Linked DNA regions of Homo sapiens: all the other regions are linked to region 4. The links are contacts of gene promoters, found by promoter capture Hi-C in blood cells and fetal thymus (Javierre and others, 2016). All regions are on one chromosome and are shown on one strand. The core of a region is centred on a gene start or on the middle of the fragment in contact, and the rest is flanking DNA. Distances in the headings are between cores, read along the strand shown. Region 1 has its middle 5.2 kb from the start of PCDHB2. Region 2 overlaps PCDHGA1 (protocadherin gamma subfamily A, 1). Region 3 overlaps PCDHGA1 (protocadherin gamma subfamily A, 1). Region 4 holds the start of PCDHB14 (protocadherin beta 14).

Region 1 (4,177 bases), core at 174-2,673, 130 kb before region 4:
GGCATAAGTAATAGAAACATTAGGGTGATCAGAGTTTGTGTAGGACCATATTTGCTGGAAGGTGTTAGAAGAAGGAATAATGTAATACTTAAAGCCCAGTCTAAAACAAAGTGTGATTCTGTTTTACTAAGCATGTACCATTCAGGATACTGAACTGCAGAATTCTGTTCCAGAGGTGCTGGAGAGTGGTTCCTTCATTGCTAATTTTGCAGAGATTTTGGGCCTTAGGATGGGGAACTTGAGAGGTATGGGGAGCGAGAGGGTAATTCATGTTTCTATAGATTTAAAAAACTGCATTTTCAAATCAAAAGACTCAGGAGTGGGTACTAAATAGAAATTGGATCCATCTGTGAGTCTCAAAGCACCTTGGAAAAATGTAACTCATTTGAGTTACTCATTTGCCTTGAGAAAGGTAACTTGGAAAAATGAGTTACATTTTTACAAGGTGCCTTGGACTCACAGATATAGCCATTCACTAGTGTGTATTACTGGATCTAGGAATGCTGCAAAAAATCAAGGAGAGCATCTTGTAGAGACCATATAGATGGCAGAACATGTAGACAGAGCAGTATTCATAAGTATATTTTGAATCCTAATTCCCATGTCTTCTCTTCTGTTTGCTTAGAGAATGGTGGCAGAAAATATCCTGAATGAGGATGGGCAATTTTCTCAGTGGAAAGAAATGGGTTGAGGTTAATTTAACTATCATGATATTGGATGGTGGGTCCCCACATAGATCCAAATCTGCATTGGTCTTCACCAAAGTTGTGGGTTATCAGTGATTTTACTCAGCTGTAATATATAGTAGTTCAGTACAGTAATCCCAGAAAAAAAGTTTTTCCTCCCTGGCTATCACTTTTCTATCAGGAATTTGGATACAAGGTATAATATAAAACTATCTTTAAGGTTTTACCGGGCTACTGAAGACTTAATGAAAACTTTAATAAAGCATTTACATTGGTATAAAAGTACCAAAAGCAAACCCATCACTCAAACCCGTAAATTCCAAGGCTATACTAATCTACAGTGTGGATTCTGAGATCATCAATAATTAAAGACTCTAGAAAATGTAACTTCTTGCTGTAAAAGACAGTCCACTCCTAATCATCATGTCATCATTTATGAACTAGGTCCCAAGGAGCCATATCTGCTTTAAGACCATATCTGCTGTTTCCTGTGTTTCAGATCCAGATCACAGAAAAAAAAATAGATATTTGGGCTTCATAATACCACCTTCCCTTCACCCTAAAGCCTTCAATAGAGGTAGATTAAAGACAAGTACAATTCTATGATTACTGCCAGAGATCTGGAGTTACTGTAAGCTGAAAGGAAACAATATAACCAGGTCTTCATTTTCACCAAACTGCCTCTGCACTTATCAAGTATGAAAACACAGCCCTAGAGTGTGCATTTTAGCAGCACACTGCCATAAACAGAGACTTAGAAAAACACCCAAGTAACTTATTTGCTTCTGGTTTCCCAGGATGTGCAGTACTCCATGACAGTGGACACAAAGAATCTGTTTGTAAGGCCCATAAGAGTCAAGTTCTGTATGAGAGAAACAGACACTACTACTACCATGAGCTAGCAGCATGGTGTTGGTGTGGTTGGTAATATTTGATGGCAATGGCAATTCTCCTTTGTGTTATATTTAATGCAGAACGGATTATGTGATGTTCAAGGTGGTGGCAGTAGAAGGAGACTAGGTCTGGAAGGTCTTCATGTCCTATCAGTTACTCAAAGACTTGAGTCTCCATCTGTATAGCGTGTTAGCCCAACACTGGGAAGTGTGCACACTAGGTTTGTGAGTGATGGTAATCTAGCCAATCATAGACTTCAGGTTATGGTCAAGGACACTGAGATGCCACCTATGTATTCCAGATTCAGACAACAACTGCTGCTGGTCAGCTGTTTCTTTCAGCTCTACTGGCTACATCTTGACAGACCTCAGGAATATGGGGTCTGTCACTTAGATTCCTCACTTAGCATATACTATGGTTTTAGTATTCCTTTGTTTTCTTGTTGGCCTGCTTCTTTACACAGTAGATGTTCAAATAATTACTGTGATATGAAAATATGTTATAATTTTCAAGTATTTCCTTATATTTCTTTAGCATATCTAAATTGATTATTTATGCTTTGTATTTTGTAGTCAGAGTTTCAGGTTTCTTCCCCTCACCCCGTATTCTTTGCCCTCTCTACACCTTTGGATTTCTTCATTATTTACTAATTTTCGATATTGTATTTAGCCATATTATTTTCTTTTCTTTTTTTTTTTTTTTGAGATGGAGTCTCGCTCTGTTGCCCAGGCTGGAGTGCAGTGGCGCCATCTCAGCTCACTGCAAGCTCTGCCTCCCGGGTTCACGCCATTCTCCTGCCTCAGCCTCCCGAGTAGCTGGGACTCCAGGCGCCTGCCACCATGCCCAGCTAATTTTTTGTATTTTTAGTAGAGACAGGGTTTCACCGTGTTAGCTAGGATGGTCTCGATCTCCTGACCTCGTGATCCACCTGCCTTGGCCTCCCAAAGTGCTGGGATTACAGGCATAAGCCACAGCACCCAGTCCATATTTTCTTTTAAAGTAAAATTTCAATAGTGATCTTAGTGAAAATTCAATCATCTACCAGATTACCTAAACCTGATTTAAGTTTTAACCTATTTTAATCATAAAAAAAAGTCTGAGATTTTTGGAAGAGGTCATACCTCTGTCTCTCTCATCTCTATTTCCATCTATATCTGTCTATCTAGCTTTATCTGCAGTCCTGGTCAAGATTTTTATTTTCAAGGGGACAGATTGTCCTAATAGACTCTGATGGTTCTCCTTAAACAAAATTGGGCAAGATTCTTGTGCAGGTATCATTTTAAAAACCTTTTCTTGCTTATTTGTACTGTGGGAAGAGAATAAACAACACCATTTCCCCTTTTTGAGTTATATTTATTTCTTGTTTCATTTGCTTGTTTGTTTGTTGTTGTTGTTGTTGTTTGAGACAGGGTGTCGCTCTGTCTCCCAAGCTGGAGTGCAGTGGTGTGATCTCGGCTTACTGCAACCTCTGCCTCCAGGGCACAAGTGACGCTAACACCCCAGCCCCCTATGTAGCTGGGACTATGGGCGTGAGCCACCACACCTGGCTGATTTTTTTTTTTTTTTTTTGGTAGACATGGGGCTTTGCCACATTGCAGGCTGGTCTTCAAAACTCCTGGACTCAAGCAATCCACCCATCTTGGACTCCCAAAGTGCTGGGATTACAGGTGTGAGCCACCACGTGTAGCCGACCTTTATTTTGAAATCTTGTTTGCTTGAGCTTCATGAAATGTATGTCTTGATAGATTATGGGGAAACTTATTTGTATCCTCAATAAGGTAAAAGTAAATTAGTTGAATATGCCCCCAATTTTCACACTAGATTAGGGTAATAAACTATGCCAGAACACTCCCTTCTTGTCCTAGAATATTTCTCTTATATTTTCTGCAGAATCTTAGTGTTAGATCACTGAAAACCCCTCCTTCTTCTGCCATCTTATGGCTGAGTAAGTAAAGCCAGCTTGTGGGCAGAAGGCATTGAAAGGCTGAAGATCCCTCTCTATTGAAAGAGGGATACTAGTGGGGATAATATCTCCATATCATTTGGCATTATCTTTGATAGGAAAATGGTCATGTAAATCCCTTTGACTACCCTTTCTCCTAATTCTTGTAATTTTCATCTCATGGCAGTCAAAAGATCAAATCACCCTTTAGTCCAAAAAAGAGAGAGGCAAGCTTAATTATGACAGATACTCAAACAATGTGTTCTTATTTAGTTTTTGAATGGCTGTACTTTTGTAATAAGACTGTAATGACTTGCTTTCATTTTTGGTATGTTTTTGAAAATATTTTTCTATTCCTGTATATGAAATTATTTGTGTAACATTTTAATATGTTAGATTTTATTAAATGAATCTTCAAAATTATGAAAGTGACTCCTAGGATAATGTCTCTGCTTGTGCAGCATATGAAAAGTAAAGCGAAACCTAAGAAATTAAACCTACTGTAATAACATAATTTTTAAATTATGCAATAGATTCCCCTCATTATAATATAAATAATTACTATATGTAAACATATTTCATTCAGACTTATAAATATGCTATAAATTATAATCTAATATATATGATTCCTTATTAAAGGAGATTAAGAAAATAA
Region 2 (4,487 bases), core at 1,020-3,519, 220 kb after region 4:
TACTGGTCGCGGTGCACTGCGGTGGACAGCCGCTCCTCTCGCTACCGCCACGTCACCACCACTACCGCCCCTCGTCGCCGACAGCCTGCAGGAGACTCTGCCAGACCTCAGCGATCACTCTGCAAAGCTACAGCCTGAATCCAAAATTAATTTATATCTGGTGATTGCCTTAGCTTTAATTTCCTTTTTATTCTTCCTGATTGCATTGTTTGTGCTGGTTTTAAAGTGCCGAAGACCCCAAAATGATCCTGTCTGAGTCTTTCCCACGGATGTCTATCCCGCGCTAAGCCCCAGGTTTCTGGGTAACTGTAGCTCTATGATGCCATATTCCTACCAGGTGTGTGCTTCTCCTACGAATCCAGGGCTGAGTGAACTTCTTTTTTGAATCCCTACCCCTCAGGACTCAATAGCAGTTTCACTGCAGAAAGCCCCTTGGGGAAGGGGATGATTGTGATTATTCTAATTGCTTGGGCAGAATCCACTCTCCAAGGTGAAAAATTCTTGATGAAACTAAGTTCAGTCACAAGCAGGTTTTCTTCTAGCATTAAATATTTTCAGAGATCTCAGTAAAAAGCATTTCTAGCAGCAAGACCAAAGGCCTAAGATGAGAAATATTTGGCATGGTGAGCTTGAGGGACAGTAGTCAGGCAGACAAGAGTATCAGACATGCCAGAGCATTTGGGGCCTGTAGGTAAGGAGCATGTTTTGATTATATATATTTGTATGTGTTTGATTATATTTTATAATTTTACTTTGATATTCAAATTGTACTGATCCAAAAATAAGGGAGGGACAAATCTTGGCCATTGTAGTATGAGAGATGTAAATTTACAACTCAGAATCCCTGCTTATCACTTCTCCTTCAGCACACAACTGTTTCATTTTCTATTTAAGAAACTTCCTCTCACTGCAAAAAGACATTCTGGCTGATAAAGTTAGCCTATAATTTCAGTAAATCTAAGAATATGACTAATGGAAGTTGCCAGACCTAAACTTTGAAAATTATTGTTCCACTGAAGAGCGTCTTATGACTGAGTGTTCCAGTCTCCTTCTCAAGCTGAACCTTGCTTTTCAAACCAGATTAAGAACACTATCATAAGTTATACTGCATTTTATTTCCCTACCCATGTCCACTGCATCATTCTCTATAGTACAAAGAGCTTGTCTCGCCAGGCGCATCTATAATCTTAGCACTTTGGGGCGCCAAGGCGGGTGGATCACTTGAGCCCAGGAGTTTGAGACCAGCCTGGACAGCATGGCAAAAACCCATCTCTACAAAAAAAAAAAACAAAAATTAACAAGGTTTAGTGGTCCATGCCTGTGGTCTCAGCTACTTGGGAGGCTGAGGTGTGAGGATCACCTGAGTCTGGGGAGATTGAAGCTGCAGTGAGCTGTGGTTGCGCTCCTGTACTCCAGTCTGGGTGACAGAATTAGACCCTGTCCCAAAACAAACAAACAAATAAAGAGCTTCTCTCCTTATGACTTATTTAAAGCTTGGGAAATTGTTCCAATTCAAATGCTTTAAATGGACTTGAGCTAAAACAGAATGTGGTATATGAAATGTTCTTATAATCAGGTGATTGTAAAAATTGATCCAGATAATGTTAGCATAGCATTTTACTGAACTAGTAGTTTACAAACACTTCAAAAATTATAGAATAACATTTGCATATAAAATTCCTCATACATTTCCCTATCAGTGAATTGGAAGCTTACAATATACAATATTACCAAAAAGACAAAAAAAATGAAAAGGAAACAGTTACCTTTGGAAAACATAATTAGGTAAAATGGGTAATATGGAAAGTCTGAAAACTGAAAAAATTACTGATAAGTCAAGAGAAAAGGAATATTAGTAGGAAAATTCATAAAAGTGTGTCTGACTACTCACAGCAGGTTTCCTTATTGGTATGTATTCTGTGGTCCATCTAAGCTATGTTAATTTTATTTTAAATGCTACCTGGGTATTGGCTTCTAAAAGGAATTCAGTAAATCAGATAATTTGGCATCTTCAATCTAGATTCTGATGCTCACCTGAAAAGTCTGCTAAGGATTGGAAACCAAGAAAAGTGAAGTATCTCAACAGATATGTGTCACTTGTGTGTACTGGATTTTTTTTTTTTTTTTTTTTTTTTTTTTTTTTTTTTGAGATGGAGTTTCACTCTTGTTGCCCAGGCTGGAGTGCAATGGCATGCTCTCGGCTCACTGCAACCTCCGCCTCCCAGGTTCAAGTGATTCTCCTGCCTCAGCCTCCCTAGTAGCTAGGATTACAGGCATGTGCCACCACGCCCAGCTAATTTTGTATTTTTAGTAGAGACGGGGTTTCTCCATGTTGGTCAGGCTAGTCTTGAACTCCCAACCTCAGGTGATCTTCCCTCCTTGGCCTCCCAAAGTGCTGGGATTACAGGCATGAGTCACTGCGCCCGGTCGCGTACTGGATTTATATTGTGTAATACTTTGCTCTAGCAGTATAGTAGGTGAGACAGTGACTGTGTCTAGTGAGCAAAAGGCACTTATTTGACACTTTTGACTCTTCCTTTCTACTTACCTTATTTAAAATTGATTTTTGCATGTGGCATGATGCACCAGTTCATTGAGGTAGGGGTTGAAGTTATTTCCCATTTTTTTCAATACCATTTATTAAAAATATTTTCCTCTTTCTGTTGAATTTGCTTGGTGCCTTTGTTGAAAGTCATTTCACTGATATATGTAGTTCTATTTCTATATTCTTGATCATGTTTCATTTGTCTATTCTTTTACTAATAGCACACTGTCTCAATTATTGTAGCTTTATAGTAAGTCTTGCTACAAAGTCTTACTACAGGACAAAGCTTGTAGGATTTTTGAATGGGATGGCATTGCATCTATACCTTTATCAGGGAAAGAGGGAAGGAGGGAGGAGGATCATCTTAACAATATTGACACTTCAAATCCATGAACATGGTATATATTTCCATTTAATTAGGTCTTTAATTTCTCTCAGCTATGTTGTATAGTTTTCAGTGTAGAGAGGTCATGTATATTTCTCATTAAATTGTCCCTACATATTTGATGTTTTCTAATGTTATTGTAAATAGTATTTTTAAAATTGTATCTTCTAATTGTTCATTTCTAGTTTACAGAAAAATGAAAAACTATGTTTTTATGTATTCTATATGCTTTTGAAAAGTAAGAGGTGCAAAGTGCTCTATTCTTACACTATATTGTGTGAGAATATAAGTCGAAACCACTCTGCATAAGTTCAGGCTTCCATTCTCTTCAGTTTGTAGGTTGAGAGAACCCATCCAGAAACAGTAAACATTGGTGTCTGCCCAAGTCTGGTCCTGGGTGGTTCATTCATTCATTTACATAACAAATATTTATTAACTGTCTGCTATATGCAAGGCACTGACCTATGGACTAAGGATGCAGCAATGAACAAGGCATATATGATTCCTGAGTTAATGGGCCCTATTCTAATACATGATATTTTACAGGTCTGATAAAAGCCAACAAGGAGAAATACAAAAGCACTAAGAGAAAGCTTATAGTAGGGAAGCTTCGCCTAATCTGAAGGTCAAGGAAGGCTTTCTTTTTTTCGGAAAGTGATATTTAGAGAGATGAATAGATTAATAGGATGAGTAGAAGTTATCTAGGTAACAAGGAAAGTAAAAAAGAAATTGTCAGGCAGAGGAAATAGCATGTGTAAAGATCTTTTTAAAAAATAAAAGGTGTGACTCAAGCAATTTAAAAGGGCTAGGGAGGCTAGAAACAGAAAATAAATAGATGAAACTAATAAGGCAGGGAGAGCCTTGTAAATCACACTTAAAATTCTGGATTTTGTTCTAAATACCCTTGTACTTAGGAGCTATTAAAATATTTTAAACAAGGCAGTGACAAGATATTTGAATTATTAAGCTTACTCTGGCTGCTATATGGAGAATTGATTTATGAGGGTTATAAATAGAAATAGGAAGATAAGATAGGAGACTATGGCAATATTCCTGGTAAGAAATGGAAGAAGAGCTGGCTTGGATTAAAGGGGAGGCAGTGGATGTAGAAATAAATGGATGAATTATAGATATATTTAGGAAATGGGTTCAATAAGACTTAATAATGGAATAGGTGGAATATAAATTTCATGAGGGCAGGGGGTGTTTTGTTTATTATTATATTCCTAGGTGTCTGAAAATATTGTTGTGTTGCCTGGCAAGTGGTAGATCTTCAGTGAAATATTATTAACTGAATAAATACAATGGATAAATGGGGAGCAGGGATTAAGAGTGATTCCTGGGTTTCCACATTAAGGAACTGGATGGACAAAGCTACCATTTGATGAGAATGGAAGACTAAAGAATGATAGATTTAAGAGAAATCGAGTTGAGTTCCAGCCATGTTCATTTGAAGGATCTGAGAAACAGTGCAGATATTCAGTGTGTGATTAGACATATGGTCATCATTCTTTTTTTTTTTTGAGATGGAGTCTCGCTCTGTCACCCAGGCTGGAG
Region 3 (4,122 bases), core at 92-2,591, 160 kb after region 4:
GGGTGCGGTGGCTCATGCCTGTAATCCCAACACTTTGGGAGGCCAAGGCAGGCATCTCACGAAGTCAGGAGTTCGAGACCAGCCTGACCAACATGGTGAAACCCCGTCTCTACTAAAAATACAAAAATTAGCCAGGTGGGGTGGCATGGGCCTGTAATCGCAGCTACTCGGGAGGCTGAGGCAGGAGAATCGCTTGAACCCATGAGGCAGAGGTTGCAGTGAGCCAAGATCGTGCCACTGCACTCCAGTCTGGGTGACAGAGCGAGACTCTGTCTCAAAAAATAATAATGATAATTAATAAATAAAGAGTGAACATGAATTTTAAAACATGCTCGGTAGTGTCTGCTTACAGGACATATCTCTAAAAATAGATGACTGACTGGTGAATGGGAGAACAAATGTTAATGAGGTTCAAATAAAAATTTAAATATTTTAGCATTTTAACCCAGACAATAAGGCTTTCATCATATAGGAACTCTTTATTGAAATATTTCAAGAAAAAAGGGATTATCATTTAGAAGACTGATTAGTCTTATTTATTATGACTGAAATGTGCAAACAGAATCATTGTTTCATGAACAGAAAACAGCAGAGTTTTTGACTGTCAATGATGTTCGAATAGAAAATGGATCACTAAGGAGATAGGAGATTCTGTTATCGACAGTCTTCAAAAGTAAGTTGATGGCCCTGGAATGAATGGAGTACAGGGGATTCTCTAATTTGATGACTTGTTGAACTACATTATAGTCAAGATTTTTCTCCAGTCATGAGTTGGAAGATTCTACAATCTGGTGGTATTATAGAATGGATTGGCCACTTGTGCATCTGAATTTGTTATGAATGTGTAAGAAAAAAGCAATTGAGAAGATACCTTGAAAATAAATGAGAACCTCCTTTGTAACCTGACTTTGTCAGTCTTCTTAAAGATAACATTGAGTTGATGTGTTTTTAAATAAGCTGCTAAGAGTAATATGTGTTTTTCTGAACCAATATTGTGGTATTTACATTTAAGGAATTGTTATAGATTTATTTATTTCAAGTTTCCAAAGGTATATACCTAAACAAGAGATCTAATCATACACATCTTCAAAGCTCATTTTCTTGTATCTTTGTGATATAATTTGATAAAATAACAATTTTAAACAACTTGAATCTTGGATATTAGTCTCATGAGTTAGATGGGCTGTTATACATATGATTATTTCATAAACTCTGAAAGTGTGAATGTTATTTTACTATACTACCAATTTGGGATGTTAAACTACATCTTGAGCATTTGTTGTTATAGGGAAAGCTCACTAACTACTTTTCATGGAGATCAGGCTGGTTTATTTTATTCTCTTATTACCTGTGACCATTTCATTTAAACAAATAAAATATTTCTCTGATGGAAAAACTACCAACTTCTACTCTCACAAAAGTCATTCACTCATGTGGACTGACCAACTGTTAAACATCCTGGCAGTCATGGAATTTGCTAAGTTATGGCTAAATGAGGTTCTTTAATCCACCTGCAATACAGATCATTAATAATAAGATAGGCTATCTGAGGTTTTGAGAGTTCAGTATAGAATTTTGAAGCATCAGGAAAAAAAACTACCAAATTATTGTCTTATTCTTATTTTATGGTCTGTGAAAGCCTCTTTTTTTTTTTTTTTTTTTTTTTTTTTTTTGTCAGAGTCTTGCTCTGTCTCCCAGGCTGGAATGCAGTGGTGTGATCTCTGCTCACTGCAACTTCCTCCTCCTGGGTTCAAGCGATTCTCCTGCCTCAGCCTCCCAAGTAGCTGGGATTACAGGTGCATGCCACCATGCCTAGCTAATTTTCATACTTTTAGTAGAGATGGGGTTTTACCATGATGGCCAGGCTGGTCTCAAACTCCTGACCTTAAGTGATCCACCCGCCTCAGCCTCTCAAAGGGCTGGGATTACAGGCATGAGCCACTGAGCCCGGCCTGAAAGGCATTCATTTCTGATCAGGCTTCTGTTGAGGTGGCAATTGTCAAAGGGGAAGGAGTAAAATCTCAGAGGAGAAACATTGGAAGATACCTATATCTTTGCTTGAGAATGAAAATCTAAATGGAACTTCAAAGAACTGTTTTGTTGTTTGTTTTTTAGAAAAAAAAGTCCCAAAAAAGAAAAGAGAGAAGATAATCAATTCGATGCCCAGGAAGCCAAATAGACTTTACATAGAATTCTTTTTAATGCAACCAAACAAATGGTCAGGATTCTTCCCAATATCTCAGTCAACAATAATATACACTCTTTAAACTATGAAATGATTTCAATTTGATACAATGAGCTTATGTTAGATTTTATTAAACATATCTTGGCGGTCTAGTAAAGATCTTTAATATTTAATTTTATGATGTTCGATAACTTAGAAAATGTGAATGCTAGAGACAATGAAGCCATTTACTCCATAGGGTATGTATGCTTTGTGTTCGGAGTAGTCTATAATTTAATTTAACTAGCTCTTATTTCCTTTTCTCCAAAGAAGGTACCAAGACACTATAAATTAATTGAGACTTTTTTAAAACAGTAGAATAAGAAACAAATGTGAGATGAAACTATGAATTTTGAGGCATCAGGTAAAAATGGATCAAGACATTGAGAGCTATAACCTCCAAACATGAAAGTTTGTTTGAAAATATCTACAAGTGCTTACATTGTTTAATAATCATACACTTTGCTTGCCTCAACAAGAAGTTCAAAAGTACTATTAAACAAATAGAATTTAACTCCAGTTTACAGAATTCATCTATAATACCTCTATTAGTTCCTTTAAACAAAATTTATCTACTTTGTGAATGCAAAGATAACTATGGATTATTTTGATAGATCAAAACAGAATGTCCTTCAAAGTGTTCCCTGTATTCTGGAGCAATGCCACCAGAAAGCAGAAATAGGTTACTTAGGAGCCTCCCACAAAACGAAGTTAAGCTTTCTTAGTGTTAGTTCTGGATTCTCCTCCTGGTTCCACCAACTACTCTCCAGGACCTAGAAGAATTTACAAACCAAGACTGTTTCTTGCCAGGTCTTTATTCCAGAGCAGGTCATTCTCTTTTATTCTGCAACTATGTGAAAGGAGCTTTCTTTTCTTTCTGCTAGCAGAGGGTAGCCTCGGATCCATCAATAATTTAGTTTTACTCTATCAACATCAGTGGAGAGACGAGTACCTCTAAGGATCCTGTCAGGACAGTCCTGCATTTTGCTCAAATGCTGTCTAGAGATCCCTGTTTTCTCAATTACACTAGAATAGAGTAGGATGAAGATTTGAATTGCATACTAGGATGAAGACTTGAATTGAATTGCATAATGAAAAGAATCAGCCAATCCATTATCCAGTTTCTTATGAATTCACAGCCCAGTAGGATCTCTGCAGATTTCTGCCTTCTGTAGAAAATGGGTTGCTTCTATAGCTGATTGCTGCAGCCAAGACAAACAACGATTTCTTTCTTTTTTTCTCACAAGACTGGGAGTGAGAATATTTGGATTCCGACATTGTTCTACTACTATATAATCAATAATCAGGAACAAGGCAAGGCAATTCCCTCTTTCTTTCTTTCTTTCTTTCTTCTTCTTTTTTTTTTTTTTTTTTTTTTGGCAGAGTTTTGCTCTTGTTGTCCAGGCTGGAGTGCAATGGTGTGATCTCGGCTCACCACAACCTCCACCTCCCGGGTTCAAGCGATTTTCCTGCCTCAGCCTCCTGAGTAGCTGGGATTACAGGCGCGCGCCACCACGCCCGGATAATTTTGTATTTTTAGTAGAGACGGGGTTTCTCCATGTTGGTCAGGCTGGTCTCAAGCTCCCGACCTCAGGTGATCCGCCCGCCTCGGCCTCACAAAGTGTGGGATTACAGGCGTGAGCAACAGCACCTGGCCCCCCCTCTCATTTTTTAAACGGTTAAAATGAAGGTGTTAGACCGTCTCTAAGGTTCTATACAATCAAAAATTTATTAAAATAGGTCTATATATTTTACAACAATTTTGACTTTCTGAATCTTGCATCATGGTGTCTAGAACATATGTGTTCAATTAATACTGAATTAATTAAAATTTATATACACTGATGTAAATATTTTCTAAGTAAAATCTTTCATATGTATTTAAATAAAATTTACCT
Region 4 (4,413 bases), core at 750-3,249:
AGATGTTTCTCAGAGTTCTGTGCCAAGCCTCTTTTATACTTATTTGACACACTTTTGCTTGGTTATCCTAGAGCATTCATGGTGTGTATATATATATATATATATATATATATGGTGATTGAAACCATGAATGCTATATATATATATATGCTATATATATGCTCTCTGTATATATGCTATATATATGCTCTCTCTCTATATATATGCTATATATATGCTCTCTCTCTCTGTCTCTCTCTGTCTCTCTCTATATATATACATATATACACACCACAGTTCATATTGCCAGCTCAGATTTATTTCCTATGCTTTGGTTATATGCAAACACACACACACACACCCCACCACCACGCAAACACACATCCTACAGGCACTTACCTCAATATCAGCATGTTCAAAACTGAACACTTCATCTTTTTCCACCCCAATCATGTTTTTTTTTAGCATTCCCTGTCCTAGTGAATGACACCACTAGTCATCCAGATGCCCAGTCCAGAGGTGTGATATCATCTCTGAGTCTTTCCCATTTTTCTCCCCATGCAACCTATCAACCAACAGTTGAAAACATTTCATCTCCTCATACCTTTCTATTCATCCCTCTTCTCTCCATCCACACTGGCATTATCCTCATCCAGATCATCATCTCTTATCTGATCTCCTTGATTCTCCAGTCACTCCCCCTGAAATTAATTCTCCATACTGCAGCCAAACTGATTTTTTAAAATGCAGATGTAATCATGTTAATCAGATATTTAAAACCCATCTTTGTACTTGAATTACCTTTAGGATAAATTCAAGAATGCATGATATGACCTGTATAATGATTCATGTTCTCACCATGCTTTTAACCCTAATTTCATTGTTAGACCCTCCCCTTCCATAGTTTTTAAAGTCCAAGGCATACTTCATTTCTCTGTGTTCCTCAAAATGCCCATCTGAAATATTCCTCCTTCTCCTGGCTAGTTCCTTCAGATCACAATGTATTTTTCATTACCTCAGGAAAGCTTTCACTGATGTCCCAAGTCCGACTTTGATCTTAATTATTTTATTTTTGACAGACACTTAACCAGCACTTACAAACCACTTTGTAAATATTAATTCATTAGATGCCTACGATAATAATCATAGGAGACAAATATTATTACCCCATTTTACAGGTGAGGAAACAAAGGTATCTATAACTTGCCCAAGCTTATAGATAGTAAGTCACATAACCAGGATTCTAATATTGATAATTTGGTTCCAGATCCCATATTCCCAAGCACTAAGGTATGCAGCCTCCTAGGTACAAGAAGTCTTTTCTAGGTATTTCTATATTACTTTTTATAAATGCATACATTATGACATACTTCGTTTACTTGTCTGCCAATTTTTCTAGCTTGTGAGCTCTGTAAGAGCAAGAATTATCTCTAACTTATTTGTGCCATGTCCTTCTTTATATTTTTAAAATATAAAAGTGAAAAAAGTAATGATATTACCAACTATAGCTGACAACAAGTATTTACAAGAGTGAAGGAGATAATATATTTGTAATTACTCGAGAAATGACTTAAATAAAAAATTATTTCTTCAGTTCAGAATATTTTAACAGATCCTTTAGTGCCGAGCATTCAAAACAGTGATAATGCAGTGTATGGACTTTTCTGGATTCAAATTCAAACAAACCAACAGCAAAGGACATTTTGGAGAGAACTGGGGAAAACCAAATGCAGTATAAATTACACCAAGGAATTATTGCTCAAGTTGTTGATTGTGAACGTTTTATTACAATTATCTTTTAGAAGGCCTTACCTATTAAAAATACTTAGTGAAGTATTTAAAGGAAAAAAAATGATGTCTGGGATTTGTTTCGAATGTTCCGGATGTATTTATGAATTACTTTTTCAAAGAGGAAAACTTTTTTAATGAAAAAAAAAACATGGAGACACATGGTGGCGCTACAGGATAAGACGAAAACAGTACATAGGCTGGCACGGTGAGCTTCGCTATTCAGGAGAACAGAAAGCATCCAACCCACTGAAAAGACAGGCATTAAAGGAGCTTCGCCTACAGAGCTGCTGGAGGATACACTCTCCAGGGGGTTCCTGTTAAAAACCAGAGCTTCAGCTTCCAAAATTACGGCTGAGCTTCAGTTTTTCCACAAGAGATTGCCTAAAGGAACCATGGAGATCAGAGGGGCACTCGATCTGCGAAAAAGGCAAGTTCTAATATTCCTTGTTTTGCTGGGATTGTCTCGGGCAGGTACTGAATCTGCACACTATTCTGTGGCAGAGGAAACAGAAATTGGCTCTTTTGTGGCTAATCTAGCGAGGGACCTAGGGCTGGGGGTGGAGGAGCTGTCTTCACGTGAAGCCCGGGTAGTGTCTGATGATAATAAAAAGTATTTGCACCTTGATTTGCTGACTGGGAATTTGCTCCTAAATGAGAAACTAGACCGAGACGAGCTGTGTGGCTCCACCGAGCCCTGTGTGCTGCATTTTCAGGTGGTTTTGGAAAACCCTTTACAGTTTTTTCGGTTTGAGCTGTGTGTCAAAGACATAAATGATCACTCCCCTACATTTCTAGACAAGGAAATACTTATTAAAATATCAGAAGGTACCACTGTTGGAGCTACCTTTCTAATGGAGAGTGCTCAAGATTTGGATGTCGGAAGCAACAGTCTCCAAAACTACACAATTAGCCCCAATTCTCACTTCTACATTAAAATTCCCGACAGTAGTGACAGAAAGATATACCCAGAGCTGGTCCTAGATAGAGCTTTAGATTATGAACAGGAAGCTGAACTCAGATTAACACTCACAGCAGTGGATGGTGGATCCCCGCCCAAGTCTGGGACAACTTTGGTTCTCATCAAGGTGTTGGACATCAATGATAATGCCCCTGAGTTTCCTCAGAGTCTCTATGAGGTGCAAGTCCCCGAGGACAGACCCCTTGGCTCCTGGATTGCCACCATCTCAGCTAAGGATCTGGATGCAGGAAACTATGGAAAAATATCTTACACATTTTTCCATGCATCAGAAGATATTCGTAAAACATTTGAAATTAATCCAATATCTGGGGAAGTTAATTTGAGATCACCCCTGGATTTTGAAGTAATACAGTCCTACACTATAAATATTCAGGCAACAGATGGTGGGGGTCTTTCAGGAAAATGCACCCTTCTAGTTAAAGTTATGGATATAAACGACAACCCACCAGAAGTGACCATATCGTCGATTACAAAGAGAATTCCAGAGAATGCCTCAGAGACCCTAGTAGCTCTTTTTAGTATCCTAGACCAAGACTCTGGAGACAATGGGAGGATGATTTGCTCTATTCAAGATAACCTCCCTTTTTTCCTGAAACCGACCTTCAAGAACTTTTTCACTCTAGTTTCTGAAAAAGCACTGGACAGAGAGAGCCAAGCCGAGTACAACATCACGATCACCGTCACAGACTTGGGGACACCCAGGCTGAAAACCGAGTACAACATAACCGTGCTGCTCTCTGACGTCAATGACAACGCCCCCACCTTCACCCAAACCTCCTACACCCTGTTCGTCCGCGAGAACAACAGCCCCGCCCTGCACATCGGCAGCGTCAGCGCCACAGACAGAGACTCAGGCACCAACGCCCAGGTCAACTACTCGCTGCTGCCGCCCCAGGACCGGCACCTGCCCCTCGCCTCCTTGGTCTCCATCAACGCGGACAATGGCCACCTGTTTGCCCTCAGGTCGCTGGACTACGAGGCCCTACAGGAGTTCGAGTTTCGCGTGGGCGCCACAGACCGCGGGTCCCCGGCGTTGAGCAGCGAGGCGCTGGTGCGCGTGCTGGTGCTGGACGCCAACGACAACTCGCCCTTCGTGCTGTACCCGCTGCAGAACGGCTCCGCGCCCTGCACCGAGCTGGTGCCCCGGGCGGCCGAGCCGGGCTACCTGGTGACCAAGGTGGTGGCGGTGGACGGCGACTCGGGCCAGAACGCCTGGCTGTCGTACCAGCTGCTCAAGGCCACGGAGCCCGGGCTGTTCGGCGTGTGGGCGCACAATGGCGAGGTGCGCACCGCCAGGCTGCTGAGCGAGCGCGACGCGGCCAAGCACAGGCTGGTGGTGCTGGTCAAGGACAATGGCGAGCCTCCTCGCTCGGCCACCGCCACGCTGCACGTGCTCCTGGTGGACGGCTTCTCCCAGCCCTACCTGCCGCTCCCTGAGGCGGCCCCGGCCCAGGCCCAGGCCGACTCCCTCACCGTCTACCTGGTGGTGGCATTGGCCTCGGTGTCGTCGCTCTTCCTCTTCTCGGTGCTCCTGTTCGTGGCGGTGCGGCTGTGCAGGAGGAGCAGGGCGGCCTCGGTGGGTCGCTGCTCGGTGCCCGAGGGTCCCTTTCCAGGGCATCTGGTGGACGTGAGCGGCACCGGGACCCTGTCCCAGAGCTACCAAT

The links. Contacts are between HindIII fragments. The CHiCAGO score rates a contact against its expected background, and 5 or more counts as called.
Region 1: a fragment that was not itself captured here is called in contact with the fragment with the promoter of PCDHB14 in region 4 in 1 of 17 cell types (M1 macrophages); the score reaches 5.0 in M1 macrophages.
Region 2: a contact is called between a fragment that was not itself captured here and the fragment with the promoter of PCDHB14 in region 4, in 1 of 17 cell types (erythroblasts). The highest score is 5.1, in erythroblasts.
Region 3: a contact is called between a fragment that was not itself captured here and the fragment with the promoter of PCDHB14 in region 4, in 5 of 17 cell types (M1 macrophages, M2 macrophages, endothelial precursors and 2 more). The highest score is 8.6, in M1 macrophages.

What each region holds. Positions count from the first base shown.
Region 1 is chr5:141,087,306-141,091,482 of GRCh38, forward strand. It overlaps PCDHB@. Among named protein-coding and RNA genes, the nearest start is that of PCDHB2, 5.2 kb to the right of the region's middle. The HindIII fragment of the contact is 4,657 bases long and covers 1-3,752 here.
Region 2 is chr5:141,442,042-141,446,528 of GRCh38, forward strand. The region is part of intron 1 of PCDHGA1 (protocadherin gamma subfamily A, 1); the gene reads left to right. The region is part of intron 1 of PCDHGA2 (protocadherin gamma subfamily A, 2); the gene reads left to right. The region is part of intron 1 of PCDHGA3 (protocadherin gamma subfamily A, 3); the gene reads left to right. The region is part of intron 1 of PCDHGB1 (protocadherin gamma subfamily B, 1); the gene reads left to right. It also overlaps PCDHGA4, PCDHGB2, PCDHGA5, PCDHGB3, PCDHGA6 and PCDHGA7, and 11 more genes. Among named protein-coding and RNA genes, the nearest start is that of PCDHGA12, 14 kb to the left of the region's middle. RefSeq lists an enhancer at 1-385. The HindIII fragment of the contact is 1,120 bases long and covers 1,710-2,829 here.
Region 3 is chr5:141,378,247-141,382,368 of GRCh38, forward strand. The region is part of intron 1 of PCDHGA1 (protocadherin gamma subfamily A, 1); the gene reads left to right. The region is part of intron 1 of PCDHGA2 (protocadherin gamma subfamily A, 2); the gene reads left to right. The region is part of intron 1 of PCDHGA3 (protocadherin gamma subfamily A, 3); the gene reads left to right. The region is part of intron 1 of PCDHGB1 (protocadherin gamma subfamily B, 1); the gene reads left to right. It also overlaps PCDHGA4, PCDHGB2, PCDHGA5, PCDHGB3, PCDHGA6 and PCDHG@. Among named protein-coding and RNA genes, the nearest start is that of PCDHGA7, 2.4 kb to the right of the region's middle. The HindIII fragment of the contact is 3,193 bases long and covers 1-2,938 here.
Region 4 is chr5:141,221,344-141,225,756 of GRCh38, forward strand. PCDHB14 (protocadherin beta 14) reads left to right here and starts at 2,000. Exons shown (of 1, transcript NM_018934.4): 1 at 2,000-4,413. The coding sequence starts at 2,163. It also overlaps PCDHB@. The HindIII fragment of the contact is 16,360 bases long and covers 1,190-4,413 here.